Regions from separate parts of the Homo sapiens genome. Here regions 1, 2, 3, 5, 6 and 7 are each linked to region 4. Evidence: promoter capture Hi-C in 16 types of primary human blood cells and fetal thymus (Javierre and others, 2016). All regions are on one chromosome and are shown on one strand. The core of a region is centred on a gene start or on the middle of the fragment in contact, and the rest is flanking DNA. Distances in the headings are between cores, read along the strand shown. Region 1 has its middle 14 kb from the start of LINC01144. Region 2 overlaps MUTYH (mutY DNA glycosylase). Region 3 overlaps TESK2 (testis associated actin remodelling kinase 2). Region 4 holds the start of EIF2B3 (eukaryotic translation initiation factor 2B subunit gamma). Region 5 overlaps ARMH1 (armadillo like helical domain containing 1). Region 6 overlaps TESK2 (testis associated actin remodelling kinase 2). Region 7 has its middle 8.1 kb from the start of HPDL.

Region 1 (3,679 bases), core at 95-2,594, 300 kb before region 4:
GTCTTCTCTGGCCCTTAGACTGGGACTTACACCATCAGTGCTTCTGGTTCTCAGGCCTTTGGACTAAAGCTGAAATCTATATCACTGGCTTTCCTGGGTCTCCAGCCTGCAGATAACAGATCATGGGACTTTGCAGCCTCCATAACTGTATGAGCCATTTCCTTATAATAAATCTCATTGTACTCTCTCTCTCTCTCTCTGTATATATCTGTGTATATATATATATATATATATATATATATACACACACACACACACACACACACACATACATACACACACTATGCCAGGCCATGTTTTGTTTCTTCTGATCTACAGACGATTAATTGCCTATTTAATATTGATTTTTTCCCTTCTTAGTTAGGGAAAATTTGCTGGCCACATGTCTAGAGGAAAAATTTTACATTCTAACCTGTCTTTTAGATAGGGTGGCCAATGAGCTATAAGCAGTAAGGCTTCCAGAAAAGCCCTTTAACTTTAACTTTAACTTTCATCTTCCTGCCCAGAACTATGATATGATGGCTGGAGTGCCAGTAGCCACATTTTAACCTTGAAGATAGAAGCTGCTTAAAGAATGGTGAAGCACAAAAATAGAATCCTAGGTGACTTTCTAGAGCATACCAGTCTTAGACTGCCTGCCTCTGGAATTCTCTTATGTACAAGAATAAATTTGTACAAGCCATCATAGTTAGATCTCTGTTACTACTCACCAATTACAATCCCTAATAAATAAACATGTCGCCTTTCTGCCGACTCAGCCTAGAGTTCCAGGAACTTTTTTTTTTTTTTTTAAGACAGAGTCTTGCTCTGTCATCCAGGCTGGAGTGGAGTTTGCAATCTTGGCTCACTGCAACCTCTGCCTCCTGGGTTCAAGCAATTCTCGTGCCTCAGCCTCCCGAGTAGCTGGAATTACAGGCATGCACCACCACGCCCGGCTAATTTTTGTGTTTTTAGTAGAGATGGGTTTCACTATGTTGGCCAGGCTGGTCTCAGACTCCTGACCTCAGGTAATCTGCAGGCCTTGGCCTCCCTCCCAAAGTGCTGGGATTATAGGTGTGAGCCACCATGGCCGGCCTCTAGGAATTTAAGTGGGCATTTCTATGAACATCCAATCATTCCTGAAGAAAAAAGGTGCTTATTATACCATATGGTGTAAGAACAAAGATCACTTACTTTTTTTTTTTAATGGAGTCATATATATATATATATATATGTCTATGTCTATACACACATATTTTTTGTCTGATTTCTTTTTTTTATTATTATTATACTTTAAATTTTAGGGTACATGTGCACAACGTGCAGGTTTGTTACATATGTATACATGTGCCATGTTGGTGTGCTGCACCCATTAACTCGTCATTTAGCATTAGGTTTAGCTCCTAATGCTATCCCTCCCCCCTCCCCCCATCCCACAACAGTCCCCGGTGTGTGATGTTCCCCTTCCTGTGTCCATGTGTTCTCATTGTTCAATTCCCACCTATGAGTGACAACATGCAGTTTTGGTTTTTTGTCCTTGCGATAGTTTGCTGAGAATGATGGTTTCCAGCTTCATCCATGTCCCTGCAAAGGACATGAACTCATCATTTTTTATGGCTGCATAGTATTCCATGGTGTATATGTGCCACATTTTCTTAATCCAGTCTATCATTGTTGGACATTTGGGTTGGTTCCAAGTCTTTGCTATTGTGAATAGTGCCGCAGTAAACATACGTGTGCATGTGTCTTTATAGCAGCATGATTTATAATCCTTTGGGTATATACCCAGTAATGGGATGGCTGGGTCAAATGGTATTTCTAGTTCTAGATCCCTGAGGAATCGCCACACCGACTTCCATAATGGTTGAACTAGTTTACAGTCCCACCAACAGTGTAAAAGTGTTCCTATTTCTCCACATCCTCTCCAGCACCTGTTGTTTCCTGACTTTTTAATGATCGCCATTCTAACTGGTGTGAGATGGTATCTCATTGTGGTTTTGATTTGCATTTCTCTGATGGCCAGAGATGATGAGCATTTTTTCATGTGTTTTTTGGCTGCATAAATGTCTTCTTTTGAGAAGTGTCCATTCATATCCTTTGCCCACTTTTTGATGGGGTTGTTTGTTTTTTTCTTGTAAATTTGTTTGAGTTCATTGTAGATTCTGGATATTAGCCCTTTGTCAGATGAGTAGGTTGCAAAAATTTTCTCCCATTCTGTAGGTTGCCTGTTCACTCTGCCGGTAGTTTCTTTTGCTGTGCAGAAGCTCTTTAGTTTAATTAAATCCCATTTATCAATTTTGGCTTTTGTTGCCATTGCTTTTGGTGTTTTAGACATGAAGTCCTTGCCCATGCCTATGTCCTGAATGGTAATGCCTAGGTTTTCTTCTAGGGTTTTTATGGTTTTAGGTCTAACGTTTAAGTCTTTAATCCATCTTGAATTAATTTTTGTATAAGGTGTAAGGAAGGGATCCAGTTTCAGCTTTCTACATACGGCTAGCCAGTTTTCCCAGCACCATTTATTAAATAGGGAATCCTTTCCCCATTGCTTGTTTTTTTCAGGTTTGTCAAAGATCAGATAGTTGTAGATATGCGGCATTATTTCTGAGGCCTCTGTTCTGTTCCATTGGTCTATATCTCTGTTTTGGTACCAGTACCACGCTGTTTTGGTTACTGTAGCCTTGTAGTATAGTTTGAAGTCAGGTAGCATGATGCCTCCAGCTTTGTTCTTTTGGCTTACGATTGACTTGGCAATGCGGGCTCTTTTTGGTTCCATATGAACTTTAAAGTAGTTTTTTCCAATTCTGTGAAGAAAGTCAGTGGTAGCTTGATGGGGATGGCATTGAATCTATAAATTACCTTGGGCAGTATGGCTATTTTCACGATATTGATTCTTCCTACCCATGAGCATGGAATGTTCTTCCATTTGTTTGTGTCCTCTTTTATTTCATTGAGCAGTGGTTTGTAGTTCCCCTTGAAGAGGTCCTTCACATCCCTTGTAAGTTGGATTCCTAGGTATTTTATTCTCTTTGAAGCAATTGTGAATGGGAGTTCACTCATGATTTGGCTCTCTGTCTGTTATTGGTGTATAAGAATGCTTGTGATTTTTGCACATTGATTTTGTATCCTGAGACTTTGCTGAAGTTGCCTATCAGCTTAAGGAGATTTTGGGCTGAGACAATGGGGTTTTCTAGATATACAATCATGTCATCTGCAAACAGGGACAATTTGACTTCCTCTTTTCCTAATTGAATGACCTTTATTTCCTTCTCCTGCCTAATTGCCCTGGCCAGAACTTCCAACACTATGTTGAATAGGAGTGGTGAGAGAGGGCATCCCTGTCTTGTGCCAGTTTTCAAAGGGAATGCTTCCAGTTTTTGTCCATTCAGTATGATATTGGCTGTGGGTTTGTCATAGATAGCTCTTATTATTTTGAGATATGTCCCATCAATACCTAATTTATTGAGAGTTTTTAGCATGAAGAGTTGTTGAATTTTGTCAAAGGCCTTTTCTGCATCTATTGAGATAATCATGTGGTTTTTGTCGTTGGTTCTGTTTATATGCTGGATTACGTTTATTGATTTGTGTATGGTGAACCAGCCTTGCATCCCAGGGATGAAGCCCACTTGATCATGGTGGATAAGCTTTTTGATGTGCTGCTGGATTCGGTTTGCCAGTATTTTACTGAGAATTTTTGCATGAA
Region 2 (3,569 bases), core at 561-3,060, 350 kb before region 4:
GATAAGATGAGGGGACCTGATTTGGACATTTCAGTCAAGACTTGAAAAATGATAAGGTGTTAGGTAAAAGCATAAAAGAGTCCAAACAGAGGAAATGGATTGTGTGAGGCCCCAAGGTGGGCAGACACACTTGAGGTGTTTAAGCAACTAAATTCAGTCAACCTTGGCTAGAGCATAGTGAGGGGATGAGGCGGATGGTGCCCGGATCACTGGACCTGCAAGGCTGTAGTAAGAGGACTGCCTTCTAAGAGCAAGGGTGTGGCAGCCAAATCCCTCCAATGGCCTATAAGGTACTTTGTGACCCTCCTCTCCCCACCTCATCTGGTTTACTTCTCTGACCTCTTCTACCACTCAGTCCCATCTCATTCCATTCTAACCACATTGACCTACTTACTGTACCACAGACATACCAGGCACCCTCCTTGGGGCCTTTGCACTCACTTAGAATGCTTTGGGTCTACCTTGACCACAGTCTTTAAAATTGCAACATTAAACCCCACCTTGGCACTCTTTTTTTTCCCCTCTTGGTCTAATTTTTGCTTTTTATGCTAATATTTATCACCTAACATCTTATGGAATTTACTTATGTTCATTATTCCTTTTCTGTCCCCATTAGAATATAAGCTCCCTGAGGGCAGGAACTTTTGATGTTTTATTTACTGAAGTATGCCAAGTGCCTAAAACTGCTTGGCACATATTAGGGGGCTCTATAAATATTTGCTCAATCTTTTTTTTTCTTTAAGAGACAAGGTCTTGCTGAGCCCAGGGTGGAGTGCAGTGGCACAATCATAGCTCACTGCAGCCTCGACCTTCTGGGCTCAAGCTGTTCTTCACTTCAGCCTCCAGAGTAGCAGGATTACAGTGTTGAGCCACCACAACCAGCTTGCTCAAGAATTTAATGACCCATAGTAAAGGCCTACAGTATTTAAAAAAGAAAGAAAAAGGAAAAAAGGAAGGAAGGAAAGAGGGAGGGAGAAAAAAAGAGAAAAGAAAGAAAATAAAAGAATATAATGGGGTGTCACCAGGCGCCGTGGCTCATGCCTGTATCCCAGCACTTTGGGAGGCCGAGGCGGGTTGATTGCTTGAGCTCTGGAGGTGGAGACTAGCCTGGGCAACATGGTGAAACCCTGTCTCTAACAAAAATACAAAAATTAGCTGGATGTGGTGGTGGTGTGCGCCTGTGGTCCCAGCTGCTTGGAGTTGGGGTGGGGTATTGGGGTGGGAGGATTGCTTGAGCCGAGGAAGCAGAGGTTGCAGTGAGCCAAGATCACACCACTGCACTCCAGCCTGGGTGACAGAGTGAGACCCCATCCCAAAAAAAAAAAAAAGAATGGGAAACCATTGAAGGTTATAAGGAAGGAAGTGACGTGATCTGGAAAAGATTCCTTTGCTCTTTGGAGAATAGATTGTAGAATGAATGTGGAAGTAAGCAGGTTTGGTGAAGGAAGTTTGGCTATGAAGGGAAGGAGGGTGGGATTTGATTGTGTTACGAGCCAAGGGGAAAATCTTTCCCTTTGCCCTCTGAAGATCTGCTGAAAAATCAGCTCACAAAAGGCAGGTTAACTGGAGAAAAGGCATACAAATTTATTAACATGCACATTGGGAGAACCATAAAGTGATTACCCATCTCCCTACAGAGTTCGTGAGTTTATATACCATCTGGCAAAACAGATTATGGGAGGGGTGTCTCACGTGTGTCCATGTGAAGAGACCACCAAACAGGCTTTGTCTGAGCAACAAGGCTGTTTATTTCACCTGGGTGCAGACAGGCTGAGTCTGAAAAAAAGGAGTCAGCAAAGGGTGGTGGAATTATCATTAGTTCTTATAGGTTTTGGGATAGGCATTGGAGTTAAGAGCAATGTTTTGGGGGCAGGGGGTGGATCTCACAAAGTACATTCTCAAGGGTGGGGAGATTATAAAGAACCTTCTTAAGGGTGGGGGGGAGATTACCAAGTACATTGATCAGTTAGCGTGGGGCAGAAACAAATCACAGTGGTGGAATGTGATCAGTTAAGGCTATTTTCACTTCTTTTGTAGATCTTCAGTTGCTTCAGGCCATCTGGATGTATAAGTGCAGGTTACTGAGGATATGATGGCTTAGCTTGGGCTCAGAGGCCTGACAAGGGGTAGAAGAGAAATTCTGTTTTTCTGTTTTTGTAGAGACGGGGTCTTGCTATGTTGCAAGCCTAATCTCGAACTCCTGGGCTCAAGTAATCCTCCTGCCTTGGCCTCCCAAAGTGCTGGGATTACAGGCCTGAGCCAGCATGTCCAGCTCTATTTGTTTTTAAATAAACCGAACTTTGGCCAGAAGGAGATTCTGTTGAAGGGCAATAAAGGATTACTAGAGAGAATGGAATGGGGACAGAGGTTGACTTGTTAATAGTTCTCTTTGGAATTTGAGTGATCCTGAGGTACACAATACCTGTGAAAGGGTTTGTTCAGGTGTGGTTACATGTTAGTCTTATTGGGAGGGGAAGAAAAAACAAGTATTCTTTTTAGTGAGTTTGGACTTTAGGCAGATAAAGAGTTCCAGAGAACAACTTTATCCTGGCTTTGGGAGAGTCTGGGGTGGAAGGATCAGAGAGACCTTGCGGCTTCTTGAGTTCAGCATGTCAGAGGGCCATATTTTGGGGTATTGGTTTCTTTTCTTTTCTTTTTTTTTGAGACAGAGTCTTGCTCTGTCTTTGTTGCCCAGGCTGTGCAGTGGCATGATCTCAGCTCACTGCAAGCTCTGCCTCCTGGGTTCAAGCGAGCACGTCTGGCTAATTTTTTTGGATTTTTAGTAGAGATGGGGTTTCGCCATGTTGGCCAGGCTGGTCTCGAACTCCTGGCCTCAAGTGATCTGCCTGCCTTAGCCTCCCGCAGTGTTGGGATTACAGGCATGAGCCACCGTGCCTGGCCTGGGGTATTAGTTTCTGAGTTCCAACAGTTAGACGGGATTGGAGGAGCAGGACCCTGAAGAGGAGGAGGGTAAGACAGTGCAAATGGAGGTAGATTTGAAGTTGGTTTTTTTTTTTCTGAAGGAGGAGGCAAGCTCTTTTGATGAAAATGAGGTGGTAAAGTCAAAGGTTTGGGGGGAGAGTTTGATACAGAGGCTTAGCAGGGACTGCATTTTATCACAGTATAAGAATGCTGGTCGTGGATTTGAAAGAACAAGTCGCTTAATCTCCATAAACCTCAATTTCCTTATAACTAAGGTGGAGGTGATACTAGTACATACCTCATAGAGTCACCAGGAGATTGAGAGATCCGGTAAAGCTCTTCATGGGGTCTGACATAGAGTAGGCACTCACAAAATATCAACTAATTTTAGCTGTTAGAGAAAAGGCGGCCATTATAACAGTTAGGGAGCAGTGAAAATCAACCAGGCACATTTTCTCATTGTTGATGGTCAGCCACCTATGGTTTACTAGATTAGGAATAAAAATAGCTAATCTCTGTTCTCCCACTGATTTGCCATCTGTTCTCAGACAGATCTTTTGTCCCTCTGATCCTTGGTTTCTTCTAGGATAAAATGAAGGTTTTGGACTTAATGACTACTACAGGCTGTTTCAGTGTAACCATGCTAC
Region 3 (3,444 bases), core at 557-3,056, 380 kb before region 4:
TATTCAGCAAGCATATATGAAGGCCAAGAGTTAAACACTTAAATATTCTGAAATATATTTTGGGTTATTAACAACGTTTTACTCTGTGGCTAGAACTAGTGTTCCCTTTTTCTTTTTGAGTCAGCTCATTACTACTGACTGTTTCAGTCAGGCAGGCCCTGGTGAACCTCCTGGAGCGGTAGGCAAATTCAGTCCTTGGCAGATATACGGATGTACGCTTGTAGTGGCTGTGGATCCTCGAGCTGAGAACAGGAGGCTTCTTTGGAGCACAAGCCTCCCACAGGGCACTCTTGGGATGTCTGTTCTGGAATTACCCAGAGCAGTAACAAAGCTTTCTTTTCTTCCTTAACCCAAGCCAGCAGGATGGGATGTCGGCTAGCCTTTGTGTTTGGAGCCTACCAACAAACATACGGTGGCCAGCACAAAAGTATTGTTGGGCTACAGTGAAAACTAGGTCGGGGCCCAAACCCTTTTCTGCAAAGAGCCCCTCCAAAGAGTAGAGTGCCAACAAGCCACTAATTTGGCTGTTTGACATTGATACTGGTTTCTGACAGGTTTCTGACTTACTGATGGCACATTGAGTCATTTAAGATTCTGAAATCTTTTTCCATTGCTGTCTGAACCTTTCAATTTGGAATCTCTGAGATGTCTTTGACTCTTTTTCCTTATTTCTCATATCTATCACTCAGTTGCTAAAAAGCTTTATATTCTGACTATAGCCAACTTTTTCTTGCCCATAAATAGCACTGTTAGTTAGATGTTTGGTCACCTCTCATCTGGCTGTTGCAGTACCCTCCAAAACTGCCTCTAATTCCTTCTCTATCCTGCTACCAGAATGATCTTTCTAAAATGCAGTTTGGGTCATGTATTAGTTTCTTAGAGCTGCCATAGCAAAGCACTACAATGTGGGTGACATAGCAGAAACTTATTATCTCAGAGTTCTGAAGGCTGGAAGTCCAAAATCAAAGTGTTGGTAGGGCCTTGTTCTCTCTGAAGGCTCTACGGGAAGATCCTTCTTGCCTTTTCCTAGCTTCTGGTAGGTTTTTGGTGTTCTTTGGCTTGTAGATGTCTCAGTCCAATTTCTGCCTCTATCTTAACATGACATTTTCCCTGTGTGCCTATATCTCTTGCCACTCTTTTTATAAGGATTCCAGTCGTATTGGATTAAGGGCCTGCCCTACTCCAATGTGACCTCATCTTAACTTGATTACATTGGCAAAGACCCTATTTCCAAATAAGGTCACATTTATAGTTACCTTACCAGGGTTTAGGACTTGCATGCATCTTTTGGGGGGATGTAATTCAACCCCCATTAGATCATATTATACCTTTACCTATAAACCTTCAGTGGCCCCTGTGGTCTGCTGAATTAACTGTAGATGCTTCATCTTGGTATTCCAGAACTTCTGCACTAATAACAAATATAATAATAATAATAGAAATAGTCATAACTGACATATTGAGCACTTTCCTTGACATTATTCTTAGCATTTTACATGTATCAACTTACTGAATCTTCACAACAACTCTGTGGGTTAGGCACTATTATTATTCCCATTTTATAGATGTGTATTAAACAAACTGAGTAACCAACTCAGGGCTCTACAACTATTATAGTCTGAGATGAGATTCAATCCTAGCCAGCCTAACTGCAGTCACCACTATATTATACTGCCCATCTTAACTTTTTAGCTTCATACTTTCTCCCCTACTTATACAGAAAAAAAAAAAAGAATAATTACTAATCTCTGTGCTTTGTTATCTTTGTGTTCCTTTTGCATAGACTGTCTTTCTTATCCCCAACCCTGCCTATGGGTTACCATGAAATGGAATTAAATCCTCAACAATGAGTGAATATTAGCCAGGCCTAGGTGGGGAAAGGGGAAGGATATTAGAGGTAAAGGGACCAGCAATGTGTACAAATGTGCAGGTGAGCAGGAGTCAGACTTTTATAAGCAGGAGTGAAAGGCTTTGTGTGCCTTTCTAAGGATTGTGGGTTTTATCCTACAAGTAATAGCACATCACTGAATAATTTTAACAGGAGAGTGGCTTCAGGTTGGCATTTCAGAAAGATTGTCTTGGCTATATTGTGGAAAATGGATTGGAATGAGGGCTAAATCTTTTCAAGATGCAAAAGGGGGCAAGAAAACAGGTTAGAAAGCTAATGGAATAACCTAAGGGAGGCGTGAGAATGATAAGTTATTGATAGTGGGTTCTACCTGTTGTAAAAAATGAAAATAAATTTTAAAAAGATACTGTTAAATGGGAGAATGAGTTGTGTACTATGAGCTAAACACCAAACTGGACTGACTTTGTATTTAGACCTTATCTCTTTAATTACTCCTTGCCTTTGAACAAACACCAAATCTTGCTGATTCTACCTCTAATGTCTCTGAGATAATAACCTCCTTTCCATTCTTGCTGCCATTGTCTTATTCAGGCCTTGGTTATCCTAACTCTTCTCCCAGCCTCAGTTCCTGACCTTTTCATACAATTTTTATACTACTGTTAGAATATTTCTATGTAGCATATCTGATCATGTTATTCTCCTGTGTGAAAAAAAAAAAGTGTTAGTTGATTGTATGGCATCCCTACTAGACCATCTAGGCTAGACTAGTCTCTGTGGGCAGAGACTGGCCCCATTTATCTTTGTGTTTCACATTGTAGGTTTTCAGTGTTTGGGTAGGTGAACAGAAGGATGGATGAATCTTTCTCAGTACCATGTTGCTAATTAGATGGTAGCAAATTATCTCTGCTAGTTAGATGACAGCACAGTTATCTTCTTTGGGTAAATGCCCTAACTCCTGGCCAGTTGGGTAGATTTTTCAAAAAGGAATAATAATTCTTAGAGTTGATATTTTCTCCAGACCTTCTCTGAATGCCTTTGAACCACTGTTCAGAGATAAGCTTATTTGGTTGCAGGTATCAGTACACTGGTAATTCAAATTTTTTTAAAACTACCATTTTGTCTTATTGTTCTGAATAGTTATAATTGGTTGAAACTACTGTAGCTGACTAGAATCAGCAAGAATTGGGAACTGGAGTCCTGGGTGCATTTACCTCAGAGAGAGGTACATATTCCCTAGAGCCAGTCCAGAATATTCTCTGTATGGATATGTTTATGTGCTTGTCTGTGCCTGAATTGGTACCTACCAGACCCTATAGGGATATGTGGGAAGAACCTATACTCTTTAGCCTAGGCAGTTGTCTTAGTCCATTTATGCTGCTATAAGAATATATCATAGACTGGGTAGCTTATAAACAACAAAAATTTATTTCTCACACTTCTGGAGGCTGGGCAATCTAAGATCTAGGCACAGGCAGATTCAGTGTTTGGTGAGGGCCTACTTCATGGTTCATAAATGCCTGTCTTTTTGTTGTGTCCTTACATAGTGGAAGGGACTAAAGAACTATGGGGACACTTGTACACACATTCTCTATCGT
Region 4 (3,741 bases), core at 875-3,374:
ACCCCACCGTGTTCGACATCGCTGTCGACGGCAAGCCCTTGGGCCGCGTGTCCTTCGAGCCGTTTGCAGACAAGGTTCCAAAGGCAGCAGAAAACTTTCGTGCTCTGAGCAATGTAGAGAAAGGATTTGGTTATAAAGGTTCCTGCTTTCACAGAATTATTCCAGGGTTTATGTGTCAGGGTGGTGACTTCACATGCCATAATGGCACTGGTGGCAAGTACACCTGCGGGGAGAAATTTGATGACGAGAGCTTCGTCCTAAAGCATACACATCCTGGCATCTTGTCCATGGCAAATGCTGGACCCAACACAAATGGTTCCCAGTGTTTCATCTGCACTGCCAAGACTGAGTGGCTGGATGGCAATCCTGTGGTCTTTGGCAAGGTGAAAGAAGGCATGAATATTGTGGAGGCCATGGGGCACTTTGGGTCCGAGAATGGCAAGACCAGCAAGAAGATCACCATTGCTGACTGTGGACAACTCTAACAAGTTTGGCTTTTGTTTTATCTTAACCACCAGACCATTCCTTTTGTAGCTCAGAAGAGCACCCCTTCACCCCATTTGCTTGCAGTATTTTTTTTTTTTTTTTTTTTTGAGACGCTGTCTCACCCTGTCGCCCTCTCCCAGGCTGAAGTGCAGTGGCACGATCTCGGCTCACTGCAACCTCCACTTCCCGGGTTCAAGCAATTCTCTTTCCTCAGCCTCCCGAGTAGCTGGGACTACAGGCGCACGCCGCCATGCCTGGCTAATTTTTTCTTTCTTTCTTTCTTTCTTTTTTTTTTTTTTTTTGTATTTTAGTAGAGACGGGGTTTCACCATGTTGCCCAGGCTGATCTTGAACTCCTGAGCTCAGGCAATCTGCCTGCCTCGGCCTCCCAAAGTGCTAGGATTACAGACGTGAGCCACCACGCCCGGCCTGCTCGCAGTATCTTATCTTTGTGCTCTTGCTGCAGTTCCCTTTGGGTTCCATGTTTTCCTTGTTCCTTTCCATGCCTAACTGGATTGCTGAGTTAAGTTTATGATTATGAAATAAAAACTAAATTAAAAAAAAAAAACAGGGTCTCACTCTGTCGTCTAGGCAGGAGGAGTGCAGTGGCCCGATCATAGCTCACTGCAGCCTCGAACTCCTGGGCTCAAGCGATCCTCCCGTTTCAGCCTCCTGAGCAGCTGGGACTACAGGCACACACTACCATGCCCAGCTAATTTTTACTTTTGTAGAGACTGGAGGCTCTCTCGCACAGGCTGGTCTTGAACGCCCGGTTTCAAGCAATCCTCCCACCTCGGCTTCCCAAATTGCGGAGATTACAGGCATGAGCCACCATGCCCAGCCGCCCCCAGTTTTGATGGCTAAAGTTAACGTGAGTGGCCCTGTTACAAATAGGAAGTCCCGGGCCGGGCGCGGTGGCTCACGCCTGTAATCCCAGCACTTTGGGAGGCCGAGGCGGGCGGATCACGAGGTCAGGAGATCGAGACCATCCTGGCTAACACAGTGAAACCCCCGTCTCTACTAAAAATACAAAAAAATTAGCCGGGCATGGTGGCAGGCGCCTGTAGTCCCAGCTCCTCGGGAGGCTGAGGGAGGAAAATGGCGTGAACCCGGGAGGCCGAGCTTGCAGTGAGCCGAGATCGCGCCACTGCACTCCAGCCTGGGCGACGCAGAGCGAGACTCCGTCTCAAAAAAAACAAAAAACAAACAACAACAACAACAACAACAAAAACAAATAGGAAGTCCTGGCAACCCCTGCAGGGGCATTCGGTGATTTTTTTCACTAGCTAGCCAAAATTGCGGCTCCCAATGAGCTTTCTTTCACCGAATGTACTCGAAGCCAGGTCTTAGACTTACTCCCTGAGGAAAGAGGCTGAGTTGTTCCGTCTGGGTTCCCGGCACCCTGCACTGGGAGGAATACTCAAAAGGCGTTGGTAATGTGTTAATGGACAGAGGGACACACGTGTCGAATGCTCCTCGGTGGCCCCGCCCCCTCCGGCCCGCCTTCCCTCCTCTCCGCTGAGTGTGCTTCCCCTCCGTCATCCATCGCTCGGCGGTCTTCTCTTCTCCATGGGTCTGCTCTGCGCGTTCCATCGAGTTTCTCGGCCATCGCGCGCCTGCGCCATTGGGCTGTCAGTCAGAGGCGGCGTGGAGATCGCTGGGAGCGGTTGCGGCGTGCCGGGAGCTGAGTTATAGCTGTGACTTCTGCCCTGCCAGGCCGCACACAAGCTGGCTGACCCGGGTGAGCAGTGCGGTGGGGCCACTCATCTGAGGGAGGCGGGCATGTCGAACTGGGCCGAGGTGGACCCGAAGGGGTAGGAGAGGGTGCTGAGCCCCGAAGTTGTCAGCTCGACTCCCTGCTCGACCCGGTGTAGCTGTGTCCGAAGTAGAAGGGAGGTTGGGGATGAGAATCCGAGCCAACCACCTTATGCAACAGATGGAGGAACTAAGTTTCTAATCTCAGCTACTCGAGAGTCTGAGGCAGGAGAATCGTTTGAACCCAGGAGGTGGAGGTTGCAGTGAGCCTAATTCGCGCCACTGCACTCCAGCCTGGGCAACATAGTGAGACTCTCCGTTTCAAAAAAAAAAAAAAAAAGAAAAGAAAAGAAAGAAACGAAGTTTCGGGGAGGGTTCTGCTTAAAGTCACAGCGAGTGAGCGAGCACCAGACCGGTACCAGACGCCTTTAGCACTGTGCCTGCACTCTTTCAGCCTCAGCCCTTCATTCATTTGTTCAGCCTGCCTTTAGTTGTTTGGATGCAGGGCAGTGAAATATAGGGAGGAGCAGTGAGGTCTCTGCCTTCAGGCAGCACACGTGGAATGACAGACCAATTCTGATACAGTTTTCTTATCTATTTACAACTGGAAAAGGCATGAGTGCTATGATGCAGGCAAGTCTGAGATGCGGTGAACACCCTCTCCAAAGCTTGGGAGGCAGCGAGACTCGTTGCCATGATTCCCGTCAGCCATAGTCGTGGCAGTGACATGAGCATTTGACAGTCTGCCTGGTAGCATGATTAGTTATGTTCATGATTACTATTCATGCTTCCTAGGTTGCCTTTCTTCACCCAGGGCCTCCTTGAGAGCTGGAACCTCAGTTCCTAGTGACCTGGGTTCTAATGCCCTTATGCACATGTTTGAGTTTGACTCTTATACAGTTGTGAAGTTCACAGGTCCTCATTCCACTTTGATTTCTGGCATCTGACTGGGAATACAGTGATGATGCACACACAGTCCAAGAAAGTCACTCTTACACTCTTATGTAGACATTTAAGAGACATTAATGTTACACTTAAGTAGACATTTAAACACATACGTGCAATGAAACCCGTAAAGGCTAAGAGAATCTGCACATGGCAGAATGGAAGCACTTCGGGAAAAGGAGTCACTTCTGGAGGGGTGGGAACGGTTAGGAATGGCTTTGTAGGCAAGAGGATTCTTGAGCTGTCTTCAAAGTTTAATAGGTGATTACTAGACACAAGAGAAAGGCAGACTAGGAAGCAACAGTAGCAGTGCAGAGACCAGAATTATGAAGCAGCATGGCTCAATTAGTACGAAGGTTTTCCATAATCTAGTCTCTGTCTAGTAAAGCAAATACAAATATAGTGCTTCTCATAAGATGGACATTATTGGCCGGGCGCGGTGGCTCACGCCTGTAATCCCAGCACTTTGGGAGGCCGAGGCGGGTGGATCATGAGGTCAGGAGATCGAGACCATCCTGGCTAACAAGGTGAAACCCCGTCTCTACTAAAAATACAA
Region 5 (3,704 bases), core at 274-2,773, 300 kb after region 4:
ATCTTTTCCCTGGAAACCTCTGTCCCACAGATCTCTTTCTACTATAGTTTAGACTGGTTGCTCACTAAGGCCAGTATGCAAATGTTGTCCTGGGATTTCCTCTTGCCGAGTTTTTCTGACGGATGCCCATTTCCTGTCTCTCACATCTTCTTCCTTCTTTGTGTACTCCCTTGTTTTGTCCTGGAAAGTCTAAAAATATTGTTTTTGACCACATGTTGGATTGGCTGGGTATATAACTCCGCGTTAGAAATAAGCTATCTGGGCCGGGCGCGGTGGCTCACGCCTGTAATCCTAGCACTTTGGGAGGCCGAGGCAGGCAGATCACGAGGTCAAGAGATCAAGACCATCCTGGCCAACATGGTGAAACCCCGTCTCTACTAAAAATACAAAAATTAGCTGGGCGTGGTGGCGCGTGCCTGTAGTCCCAGCTACTCAGGAGGCTGAGGCAGGAGAATCACTTGAACCCAGGATGTGGAGGTTGCAGTGAGCCGAGATTGTGCCACTGCACTCCAGCCTGGTGACAGAGTGAGACTCTGTCTCAAAAAAAAAAAAGAAAAAAAAAGAAATAAGCTATCTGGCCAGGTATGGTGGCTCATGCCTATAATCCCAGTATGTTGGGAGGCTGAGGCAGGAGGATCACTTGAGCCCAGGAGTTTGAGACCAGCCTGGGCAACACAGTGAGACCTCCATCCCCTCACCCCCAAATTAGCCAGGTATAGTGACACACACTTGTAGTTTCAGCTACTTGGGAGGCTAAGGTGGCTGAGGTGGGAAGATCGAATGAGACCAGGTCGGGGCTGCAGTGATCTATGATCCCGCCACTGCACTCCAGCCTGGGCAACACAGCAAGACCCTGTCTCGAAAAAAAAAAAAAGCTTCCCTCAGATTCACCCTCCCCAGTTGCTGTTACTGATGAGAAATCTGAAGTCATTCTGATTCCTGTGCCTTTGTCTATTTTTTTCACTCCTGATGATTTTGAAACCTTTCTGAAGTTGTATAATGATATGCTTTGGTGAAGGTCTTTTTTAATTTACTATAGTAGGCCCTTGGTGGGCTCTTTAAATCACTGTATCCTTCAGTGTTTGGATATTTATTAGGCAACTAGTCTTCTCACTGGGGAATTCATAAATGTCAGTCAGTGGAAGCTTGTTTGTTTTTTTTTAACACCCTCATAGAGATATCAGGGTCTCTGGAGAAGACTTTCCTACTTTCCCAGGGAGGGTGAGAGAGCAGGGGTGCTATTACAGACACCTCGCCATGGCATGTTGGGAGTCAGGTGGGGGAAGGGCTCACACAATGCTGTGTGTAGACCTTCCCTCTACTCATCAGTTTTCAACTCTATGTCTCATTCCTGCCCTTCAAGCCCTGCCTGAGGTCCCTGTGCAAGGAGGCCTACAGAGTCCAACTTCCTTCCTCTTCATGCAGCAAGAAAGTTTAGAGTCATTTCTTTCTTGGCGGTTGAGGGTCTGGAGTGCAGGCAAGTGCTCTGCACACAGAGGTCAGTGAATCCCCCTAGGTTGGGCTCCATACCTCATTTCTGACCTTCAGTGGTAATTTGTGCTTTCAAGCATTAAGCCTCTTAGAGGTCAAACTGGCTGAATTGACTGGTTTCTTGTTGGTAAGCTCCCCTTGTTGGCAGTTGCTTGCAATTTCCTCTGCTTCAAGCCGGTTAGCCTCCCTGCACCTGCCTTCTGCCTTCCAAATATTTGTTGAATTCTTTCATCTCCTGTTGCCTCCTTCCATGAACTTTTGTGACTGAATGCTTTTTTATATTTCTTCAGCGGGGTTATGTCACTAAGGTTTTTCAGAAGTAGGGGGAGATAAAAGACATTAAGTATATTTAATTAAGAGCCTCCAGTCATGTATTATTTATCTCAACCTTTCTTTAATAGTAAGCTTGATGAGGGTAAAAAAAGACCCATTAACTACCATTTTTAAAAATAATTAATAAGATGAAAACAGTGGAAAAAAGACCAAAATGTGTCAATTTCAAGAGTCAGTTGCTGGGATAAATTGTATCTAAGCTTGTTGACCGCTAAGGAAAAAGTGATGTTAGCTGTGTTTCCTGGTGAAGGCAGAAGGAATGAAGGCAGGGAGAAGAAACTGACATTTTTTGAGTGTTGATTAAGAGCTATCCACACACCATACGCACACACACTCACACACTCTCTCTCTCTCTCTGTGGTTGTTTTTGTTTATAGAGATGGGGTCTCTCTGTGTTGCCTAGGCTGATCTCAAACTCCTGGCCTCAAGCTATCTTCCCACCTTGGCCTCCCAAAGTGCTGGAATTACAGGTGTGAGCCACCGCACCCTGCCTAAATTCTTTGTTTTAATCCTCTTAAGATCCTCAGGAGGTCATCATTATCCACAACTTTCAGATGAAGAAACTAAGGTTTAGAAGGGTTTGCTCATTTATTGAAGGTCTCAAATAGGGATGGGAATGGGATTTGAACTTAGATCTGCATATAACTCCAAAGTCCAGGTTTTTCCCCACTAAGCCAAGGGCATGGATCCTGTTCTCCTCTGTGCTCCAAGGTGTCACCAATAATCTCCTGTTGTCAGATTTAGTGGTTTAGCTCACCGTCCCAGCGTGCTTGGTCTCTCTGATGGATTGTGAATGACTCTTTTCCTAACCCCAGAATCCCCTGGTTCTACTCCAGACTCTCTGAATCCTCAGTTGCCATTGCAGGATAGTGCCTTTGCAGGTCGTTTTCCCGTTCTTAGTTCTCTTCTCATGCTTTGTAATCCCTGGGTGACCTCATTCACCCCATCACTTCAAATTACATTTATAGGCGCACGACTCTCAAATCCGTCTCCTCAGTCTGGGCCTCCCACCTGAGCTCCAGATCTCTTTATGTACTTAAGTGACCGGCAGACTCTTCACTGGTATGTGTCACAGGCTCCTCAAGTCAACAGGTCCCAAACTGAACTCATCAACTCACACCTGCCCCTTGCCCTGTGTTGGTCCTATTTCAGTGCTTGGGTCACCACCCTCCTAGTCAGCCAAAAGTTGTCTTTGACTTATTCCTCTCCCTTGCCCTCATCTGAACTGTTGCCAGCTCCTGCCAATTACATGTCCTAAATTTCCCTGAGATCAGTCTGTCTGTCTTCACCTCCACTGCCGCTATTTCAGTTTCACACCCTTGTTCCGCATATGGATTACTGCAACAGCCTCCACTGGTCTTCGGGCTTGCCCCAGCCTAAACTCCACAGTGATGTGAGATTTTTTATTTTTATTTTTATTTTTGAGACAGGGCCTTGCTCTGTCACCCAGGCTGGAGTGCAGTGGCACAATCATAACTTACCGCAGCCTCAATCGCCTGGGCTCGAGTGATCCTCCCACCTCAGCCTCCTGAGTAGCTGGGACTACAGGTGCATGCCACCATGCCCACCTAATTTTTATTTTTATATTTGTTTATTTTTTGTAGAGGTGGGGTCTTGCTTCGTTGCCCAGGCTGGTGTCAAACTCCTGGGCTCAAGCAATCCTCCTGCCTCGGCCTCCCAAAGTACTGGGATTACAGGTGTGAGCCACCAGGCCAGGCTTTGATGTGAGATTTTTAAAAGTACAAATCTGACAGATTTCACTGCTTCAAACTCTTCAGTGGTTCCTTACTACCTGAGGATAAAGCTTCAAACATTTCAGGCCAAAGAATTTCCATCTAAATTCGGCCCCAGGTGAAACCTGACACCCCACCCCACCCCTT
Region 6 (3,875 bases), core at 310-2,809, 480 kb before region 4:
AATACACTTTTAAGAACTGGCTTTTGATCTGTCTGGTACTAATATATGCCATTGTGTATATTCGTGGTTAATTAGATAAGGGATGCCAGTTTTTATGCTAGATTGCCTTTGGTTTGAATGGAAACTGCAACTCATTATTTCACAGCAGGAAGGTAAGCTCAGCAGTATTGCTTTTATTTTTAATTAGATAGTCATCCTGAAACGTGTCTGTATTAGCTGTGTTGGTCCATAGAAAGAATAACAGCTGAGCAGACTTGTCATGTAGATTTGCCATGTGTTTGGTATTGATACACAGCTAATGTACTTGTCAGTATTCCCATTCTAGAAAATAAGTGGCCAGTTTTCGGGGCTACATATTACTCATAATGAATCCTTAATTTATTCTGGATTAGGTGGGGACTTTTTATGATTATAGAAAGAAAACAATGTGATGAGGATATTGGTATATTATGTTTGCAGTCTTTTTCTACTCTTTATATCTAGGGTGTGAAAGTCCACTGAATTCTCAGAAATCTTTTTTGATGACTTTGTGGGATAATATTACCAACTTTGTGCACATATGATTCCATATTTGGATGGACATTGACAATTTTTGATTGCTGGCTGACACTGCCAAATCCAGCTACCTGTTGGTAGATAGCTTTCTAGTGCATTGCAGGATTAAATTTGTGTCTGGACTATTGTGAAGTTGTATCTACTTTGTTTTGCTGAAATGAAGGGGTGAGAAACAGCAGATACTGTGCATTAGAATGGAAAATAGAGAATGATTGGGATTTGGCATATTTTCCCTGTCAGCATGGCATCCATTCTTTAGAAAGCCTGTTTAAATCAATACTGATTTTTCTGTCTGTAGAATGTGATTGAATGACTGAAGGAAGGCTTTTGCCTCAGAGACTGGTAGAGCCATCATTTGTACACTTTTTACTCACCCTGTTGAGGGAAGTTGGGGAATAGTAGTAGCTTTCTACGTAGCTAACCCACAAATCATTTTTCACAGAAATTTGATGTATTTCTGAAGGAGACATGTTATAATGGGAAGTGCTTAGGTTTGAAACTACTAGATTTGAATCCTGAGTCTCACTAGTTGTTTATATTTGGAGAAGTCATAATCTCTCAGGATTTTGATTTCTTTTTCTTTAAATTAGAGATGATAATACATGCTTTGCAGAGTTGTCACAAAGATTACAGATAACATACAAAACCCTTGGTAGAATGCGTGGTCTGTAGTAAATAGTGGCTGCAGTTATTATTTCCAGAAGCATATTTCAGACAGGAGTGTGGTCTGAGAGTCCTAAAAATTTCCTTGATATTTCTGAAAAATGATTTTTGGAATTCTTACTTTGGAAAGATTAAAAAATATAATATTGAAGATAGGCTATTTAGTTCACTAACTTTTTTTTAATTGGTAGCTTTTCAAATTACTTTCCCCAATCAAAGCTTTTAGTTGTATTTTCTTTGTGAAAAACAAATCAACTCCTATATAAATGAAATTAATATTTGAAAAAACAAACCTACCTATGTAGAAAAGAAAAAGTTTTGAACTTCCAAGTTTATAATATTTAAGTTGAGAACATAGTTACTAAAAAATTACTTGTGTCCTTATAAGCCACATAATTTGGGCATTTTTGAAAGACTGCTAAATGCTATTTCCTAGTCTAAGAACAAAAATGATTAAGCTTCTCTAACACAGTGTTTCTCAACCAGGGCATTATTGGCATTTAGGGCAGGACAATTCTTTGTTTTGTGCATTGTAGGACATTTAGCTTCCCTAGCACCTGCCCACTAAAATACCAGTAGTGCTCATCCCACACCCCCATCATTGTGACAATAACGCCTTATGTTTTTCTGGTAATGTGATGGTAACTGTAGTTATCTCTGTTCCAAAAAAAGTATATTAATACTTTGAGGGACACTATTAGTATCAATAGATAATACTCAATATATAAGACCAAGAGAGGTAATCCAGAGGCAGAAACCATCATAAAATGTCATATATTTGAAATAATGTATTTTCTTATTTTAAAAGTAATCATTCCCACATTTTATAAAATTGGGCTTGGTTTTAGGGTTTGTACGTGTATATCTTTGCTGCCTTTTATTAGTTATTAAAATTTGTCAGAATAAATTGACAGCCATTTATAGCTTGGTTGATTTCATTTAAAATATAGTCATTTAGTTTGCTCGCCAAGGGAGCAGAAGGCATGGTTTGGAAGTTTTCTCTTGCTCAGCACTTCTCTAAAATGGATTAATACAGTTCTTACTCCCATGGAGAGGACTCTACTTCTTACCACTCATCTCAGCTATCTAATCATTAGTATTACTTTAGCATGTGATAGGGTCTCTACACTAAATATCAGTGTTTGTTATGAGCTCTCTAATTTTTTTTTTTTTTTTGAGACAGACGTTTGCTCTATTGCCCAGGCTGGAATGCAGTAGCCCAAACACGGCTCACTGCAGCTTTGACCTCCTGGGCTCCAGCAATCCTCCCACCTTGGCCTCCTGAGTAGCTAGGACTACAGGTGTGCACCACCATGCCGGGCTAATTTTTGTATTTTTTGTAGAGACGGGGATTTCACTATGTTGCCCAGGCTGATCTTGAACTCCTGGGCTCAAGCAGTCATCCTGCCTGAGCCTCTAAAATTGTTGGGGGATTACAGACGTGAGCCAGTGATCCCACCCAATATTTTAAGTTTGTGGACTTAAATAAGTTAGGCCATCCAAAAATTCACCCATGATTTTGAAGTTTTAGCCTAAGATATATATATTCCTAGGACTAAAAACTACGGTGGAAATTTAGCAGAATAAAAGTTTGAGAGTCTAGAGGCTTGGCTTGCACACTGGCATGCTGTTTATTTGCCAAATTGTTATCAATGTTTTGGCTTAAGCATGCTACATAGCTGTTGCATTAGCAATAGACTTAAAAAAAAAAAAAACTGTGAAGGCCGAGCACAGTGGCTCATGCCTGTAATCTCAGAACTTTGGGAGGCCAAGGCGGGCGGATCATGAGGTCAGGAGTTTGAGACCAGCCTGACCAACATGGTGAAACCCCATTTCTACTAAAAATACAAAAATTAGCCGGGTGTGGTGGCGCGTGCCTCTAGGGAGGCTGAGGCAGGGGAATCCCTTGAACCTGGGAGGCGGAGGTTGTGGTGAGCCATGATCGCACCACTGTACTCCAGTCTGGGTGACAGAGCGAGACTGCATCTTAAAAAAAAAACAACAAACCTGTTAAACTTTTTTGAAATTAAAAAAATTTAAATGCAGAAAAGAGTACAGTATAATAAATAACACCCAGAATTAACAAATATTAATTAATGAAAAATGATAAAATTAACAGATATATCATTTTGTGTTATTTGCCACAGGTTTGTTTTTCAATAGAAGGAAACAAAAATATTATTGGCAGTCCATCACCTTAACCACTTGGCCACTTCATCACGTTAAGGAAACAAAATTTTATTAGTATAGTGGATGTCTCTTTTGTTTCCCTTTCTTGTCATTTCACTTTCTTTCCCCTGAGGCAAATACTATTATGAATTTAGTGTCTTCATTTTTAGTTCATGCTTTTAGATGTTCACTATAAATATGTAATATCTTTAATAATTATAATAACAAACAGGAGTTGAATGCTTATTGTTTATTAGGTACTATCCATTTAATCAATAACTTTGTGGTTATTGTAAGGATTAAATGAGTTAATAAATATAAAATGTAGGCACTGTTTTTATTTTCATTTTTCAGATAGGGAACTAGAGATGTAGAGAGGTTAAATAACATATCTAAGTTCATATAACTAGAAGTTACGGAGCAAGGATTTGAACCCAGATTGTTTGGCTGTAGATGTCATAGCATTCATGACTATGCTATTCTGCTTT
Region 7 (3,329 bases), core at 242-2,741, 330 kb before region 4:
TGATGATGCAACTGGGTAGAGGGGGAGGTTCGATTTTTATGGTGTATGAGAAAGCGCATAGTGTCTATGAATAACCTTTCACTGCTATTCATGGGGCCAGGTATAAGCAAGCAAGAGGACAGCTAGGAGGAGAGTCCGAAGAACAAGGGGAAGGTAGCCAAGGATGGAGTGAAATGCAGGGCAAATGTCTTAAAGGAAATGAGAGGTTCTAAGAGGCGAGCTCGTGGCTTGTAACCCACATGGAAGAGGTTAAAAAGGACGATAGAATGGAATGAGCCTGTGAGGCTGGAAGGAGGTATTTTCCTTGGTCTAAGAACCATTTGCCTTGAGTAGGGAGGGATTGATATGTGGAAACTTCAGTGGGAGAGTAAGTAGGAGTGACTGATGAGGAGAAAAACTGGCCATGAGGGACAGAAGTAGGAATACAGGCTGCTTCTTTAGCTGTCTTATCAGCATAATTGTTGCCTTGAGCAATGGGGTCTGAGGCCCTTTGATGGCCTTTTCAGTGAATGACTCCAGCTTCCTTTGGAAATAAAGCGGCCTTGAGAAGAGGAAATCTCTTTCAGCCCATGTAACAGCATGGTGGTGCAGTATGGAAGGCATATTTAAAGTCAGTATAAATATTAGCATGCAGTCCTTTTGCAAGAATGAGGGCTCGAGTTAAGGAAATGAGTTCGGCTTGTTGAGAGGTAGTGGAGTGGGGCAGAGCGGTAGCCTCAATGATAGATGTGGAAGATACTATAGCATAGCCTGCCTTTCCTGGTGAGTGGCAATTAGGCCTGGTGGAACTGCCATCAATAAACCAAGTGTGATCAGAGTGAGGAACAGGAAAGAAGGAAATATGGGGAAATGGAGTGAATGCCAAGTGGATTAGACAGACACAGTCACGGGGGTCAGGTGTGGTATCAGAAATAATGTGGGGGCCAGCCTAAAACAGTAAGGTCAAGTTGTTTGAACAGAAAGGCTACAGGGTGGGGTCCTGGCCCTTGTGTAAGAATTCTGACCGCACAGCCCTGCACTTCGGCTACGTGTAATGAAAAAGGGTTGGGATGAGTTAGGGAAAGCTAGTGTGGGAGCAGCTTCTAGGGCTGTTTTTAAGGAATGGAAAGAGGAGTGGGGGAAAGGATTTAGGATGGGGTCAGCTAGGTTTGCTTTTGTGAGTTTATATAATGGTTTAGTCAGGATAGCAAAACCAGGTATCCAAAGGTGAAAGTACGTAACCATGCCTAGGAAGGAAAGGAGTTTTTGCTTTGTAGAAGGGGTTGGGGTTTGGAAGATTAGCTGGACACGATCAGCAGGGAGAGCACATGTGTTTTTATGAGAATTATGCTGAGATAGGCAATGGATGAGGAAGAAATTTGGGCTTTAGAGGGGATATGCGATATCCTTTTGAGAATAGATGTTGGAGGAGCAGGAGGGTGTCCTGTTGGGAAGATTTGTAGGGGGAGCTATAAAGTAGAAGGTCATCAAAGTATTGAATAAGGTGAGAACCAGATGGATGGAAAGAAAGTAAATCATGAGAAAGGGCTTGACTGAAGTAATGGGGGCTGTCCCTGAAGCCTTGTGGCAGTACAGCCCAGGTAAGTTGCTGAGGCTGATGGGTGTCAGGGTCAGTCCAAGTGAAAGCAAAGAGAGGCTGGGATGAAGGGTGCAAAGGAATAGTAAAGAAAGCATCTTGGAGATCCAGAACAGAATAATGGGTTGTGGAGGGAGGTATTGAGGATAGGAGAGTATATGAGTTTGGCACTATAGGATGGATGGGAAGGACGATTTGATTAATAAGGTGAAGATCCTGAACCAACCTGTAAGACTTGTCCGGTTTTTGTACAGGTAGGATAGGAGAGTTGTAAGGAGAGTTTGTAGGCTTTAAAAGGCCATGCTGTAACAGGTGAGTGATAACAGGCTTTAGTCACCTCAAATCCTGTTGTGGGATGGGATACTGGCATTGAGTGGGGTAAGGGTGATTAGGTTTTAATGGGATAGTAAGGGGTGAGGCTTTGAACTGGGGAAAAGAGAGGCAATGAGATGTGGCTGTAGCCCAGGAATAGTCAGGGAAGCAGCTAATTTAGTTAAAATGTCTCGACCTAATAAGGGAGTTGGGCAGGTGGGATAACTAAAAAGAAGTGCATAAAAGAATGTTGTCCAAGTTAGCACCAGAGTTGGGGAGTTTTAAGAGTTTTAGAAGCCTGGCCATCAATACCCACAACAGTTATGGAGGCAAGGGAAACAGGCCCTTGAAAAGAAGGTAATGTGGAGTGGGTAGCCTCTGTATTGATTAAGAAGGGGACGGACTTACCCACCACTGTAAGAGTTACCCAAAGGGTCTGTGATGGTCCTGGAGGTTTCTGAGGCGCTCGGGCAGTGTCAATCTTCAGCCACTAAGCCGAGGAGATCTGGGAAGGAGTCAGCCAAGGAATGTTGGGTTTGATCTCCAGGAGCTTTAGGAGTGGCAGCGATGTGAGCTGGACAGTCTGACTTCCAGTGGGGGTTCACACAGACAGGGCACGGCTTAGGAGGAATCCCAGGTAGTGGGCATTCCAAGGCTCAGTGGCCAGATTTCCAGCACTTGAAGCAAGATCCTGGGGAAGAAAGTCCTGGAGGAACATCTGGCTGCTGTGGTTTATGCGTTTTGAAGTTCTTGTGCGCTGGAGATGTGGCTGGGGTTTCTCTCACAGCAGAGGCAAGTAATTGCAACTCAGAAATACGGTGCCTCTTGGCTGTGTCTTCTCTATTATTGTACACCTTGAAGGCAAGGTTAATTAAGTCTTGTTGTGGGTTTTGAGGGCTGTAATCTAATTTTTGGAGCTTTTTTTAAATGTTGGGAGTGGATTGGGTAATAAAATGTATATTGAGAATAAGACGGCCTTCTGGCCCCTTGGGGTCTAGGGCAGTAAAGCGTCTAAGGGTTGTTGCCAAATGGGCCATGAACTGGGCTGGGTTTTTATATTTGATGAAAAAAAGCCTAAATGCTAATTGATTTGGGAGAGGTTGGCTAAAGAAAAAGGAGCATTAACCTTGACTATACCTACAGCTCCAGCCACCTCTCTAAGAGGAAATTGTTGGGCAGGTGGGGGAGGGTTAGTCACGGATAAGCGGACTGGATGTGAGGATGGGAGGTGCTAGAAGGATTATAGAGTGGGGGAGTGGAGGCTGGGAAGAATTGGGACCTGGCTCGGCCTGGCAAAGAGCAGCCTGGGGAGGAAGGGAGAGGTCAGATGTGTTCGTAGAAAAGGAGGATTCAAAGGACTCAGAGCTTGGGGTGGAGACTGAAGGAAAAGACAGGAGAGAAAGAAGGAAGATTTGGGGCAAGTCACATTAGGAGCAGAGAC

What was found. The method cuts DNA at HindIII sites, captures the fragments that hold promoters and counts their contacts. A CHiCAGO score of 5 or more calls a contact.
Region 1: a fragment that was not itself captured here is called in contact with the fragment with the promoter of EIF2B3 in region 4 in 2 of 17 cell types (naive CD8 T cells and erythroblasts); the score reaches 6.2 in naive CD8 T cells.
Region 2: a contact is called between a fragment that was not itself captured here and the fragment with the promoter of EIF2B3 in region 4, in 5 of 17 cell types (naive CD4 T cells, naive CD8 T cells, M1 macrophages and 2 more). The highest score is 8.5, in naive CD4 T cells.
Region 3: a fragment that was not itself captured here is called in contact with the fragment with the promoter of EIF2B3 in region 4 in 3 of 17 cell types (naive CD4 T cells, activated CD4 T cells and non-activated CD4 T cells); the score reaches 6.9 in naive CD4 T cells.
Region 5: a fragment that was not itself captured here is called in contact with the fragment with the promoter of EIF2B3 in region 4 in 1 of 17 cell types (activated CD4 T cells); the score reaches 5.5 in activated CD4 T cells.
Region 6: a contact is called between a fragment that was not itself captured here and the fragment with the promoter of EIF2B3 in region 4, in 1 of 17 cell types (total CD8 T cells). The highest score is 5.9, in total CD8 T cells.
Region 7: a contact is called between a fragment that was not itself captured here and the fragment with the promoter of EIF2B3 in region 4, in 6 of 17 cell types (M1 macrophages, naive CD4 T cells, activated CD4 T cells and 3 more). The highest score is 7.0, in M1 macrophages.

Annotation. Positions count from the first base shown.
Region 1 is chr1:45,288,284-45,291,962 of GRCh38, reverse strand. No RefSeq gene overlaps it. Among named protein-coding and RNA genes, the nearest start is that of LINC01144, 14 kb to the left of the region's middle. The HindIII fragment of the contact is 4,556 bases long and covers 1-3,622 here.
Region 2 is chr1:45,334,907-45,338,475 of GRCh38, reverse strand. All of the region lies in intron 1 of MUTYH (mutY DNA glycosylase), which reads left to right. Among named protein-coding and RNA genes, the nearest start is that of MUTYH, 3.3 kb to the left of the region's middle. The HindIII fragment of the contact is 5,969 bases long and covers 1-3,569 here.
Region 3 is chr1:45,362,012-45,365,455 of GRCh38, reverse strand. The region is part of intron 4 of TESK2 (testis associated actin remodelling kinase 2); the gene reads left to right. Among named protein-coding and RNA genes, the nearest start is that of TOE1, 24 kb to the right of the region's middle. The HindIII fragment of the contact is 2,207 bases long and covers 703-2,909 here.
Region 4 is chr1:44,984,978-44,988,718 of GRCh38, reverse strand. It overlaps EIF2B3 (eukaryotic translation initiation factor 2B subunit gamma), which reads left to right and starts at 2,124. Exons shown (of 12, transcript NM_020365.5): 1 at 2,124-2,226. It also overlaps the pseudogene PPIAP35. RefSeq lists enhancers at 1,781-1,830, 1,541-2,122, 2,081-2,350 and a silencer at 1,901-1,990. The HindIII fragment of the contact is 3,433 bases long and covers 1-2,910 here.
Region 5 is chr1:44,682,483-44,686,186 of GRCh38, reverse strand. The region is part of intron 1 of ARMH1 (armadillo like helical domain containing 1); the gene reads right to left. Among named protein-coding and RNA genes, the nearest start is that of ARMH1, 9.6 kb to the right of the region's middle. The HindIII fragment of the contact is 751 bases long and covers 1,148-1,898 here.
Region 6 is chr1:45,466,695-45,470,569 of GRCh38, reverse strand. The region is part of intron 1 of TESK2 (testis associated actin remodelling kinase 2); the gene reads left to right. Among named protein-coding and RNA genes, the nearest start is that of TESK2, 23 kb to the left of the region's middle. The HindIII fragment of the contact is 239 bases long and covers 1,440-1,678 here.
Region 7 is chr1:45,317,150-45,320,478 of GRCh38, reverse strand. No RefSeq gene overlaps it. Among named protein-coding and RNA genes, the nearest start is that of HPDL, 8.1 kb to the left of the region's middle. The HindIII fragment of the contact is 5,394 bases long and covers 1-3,329 here.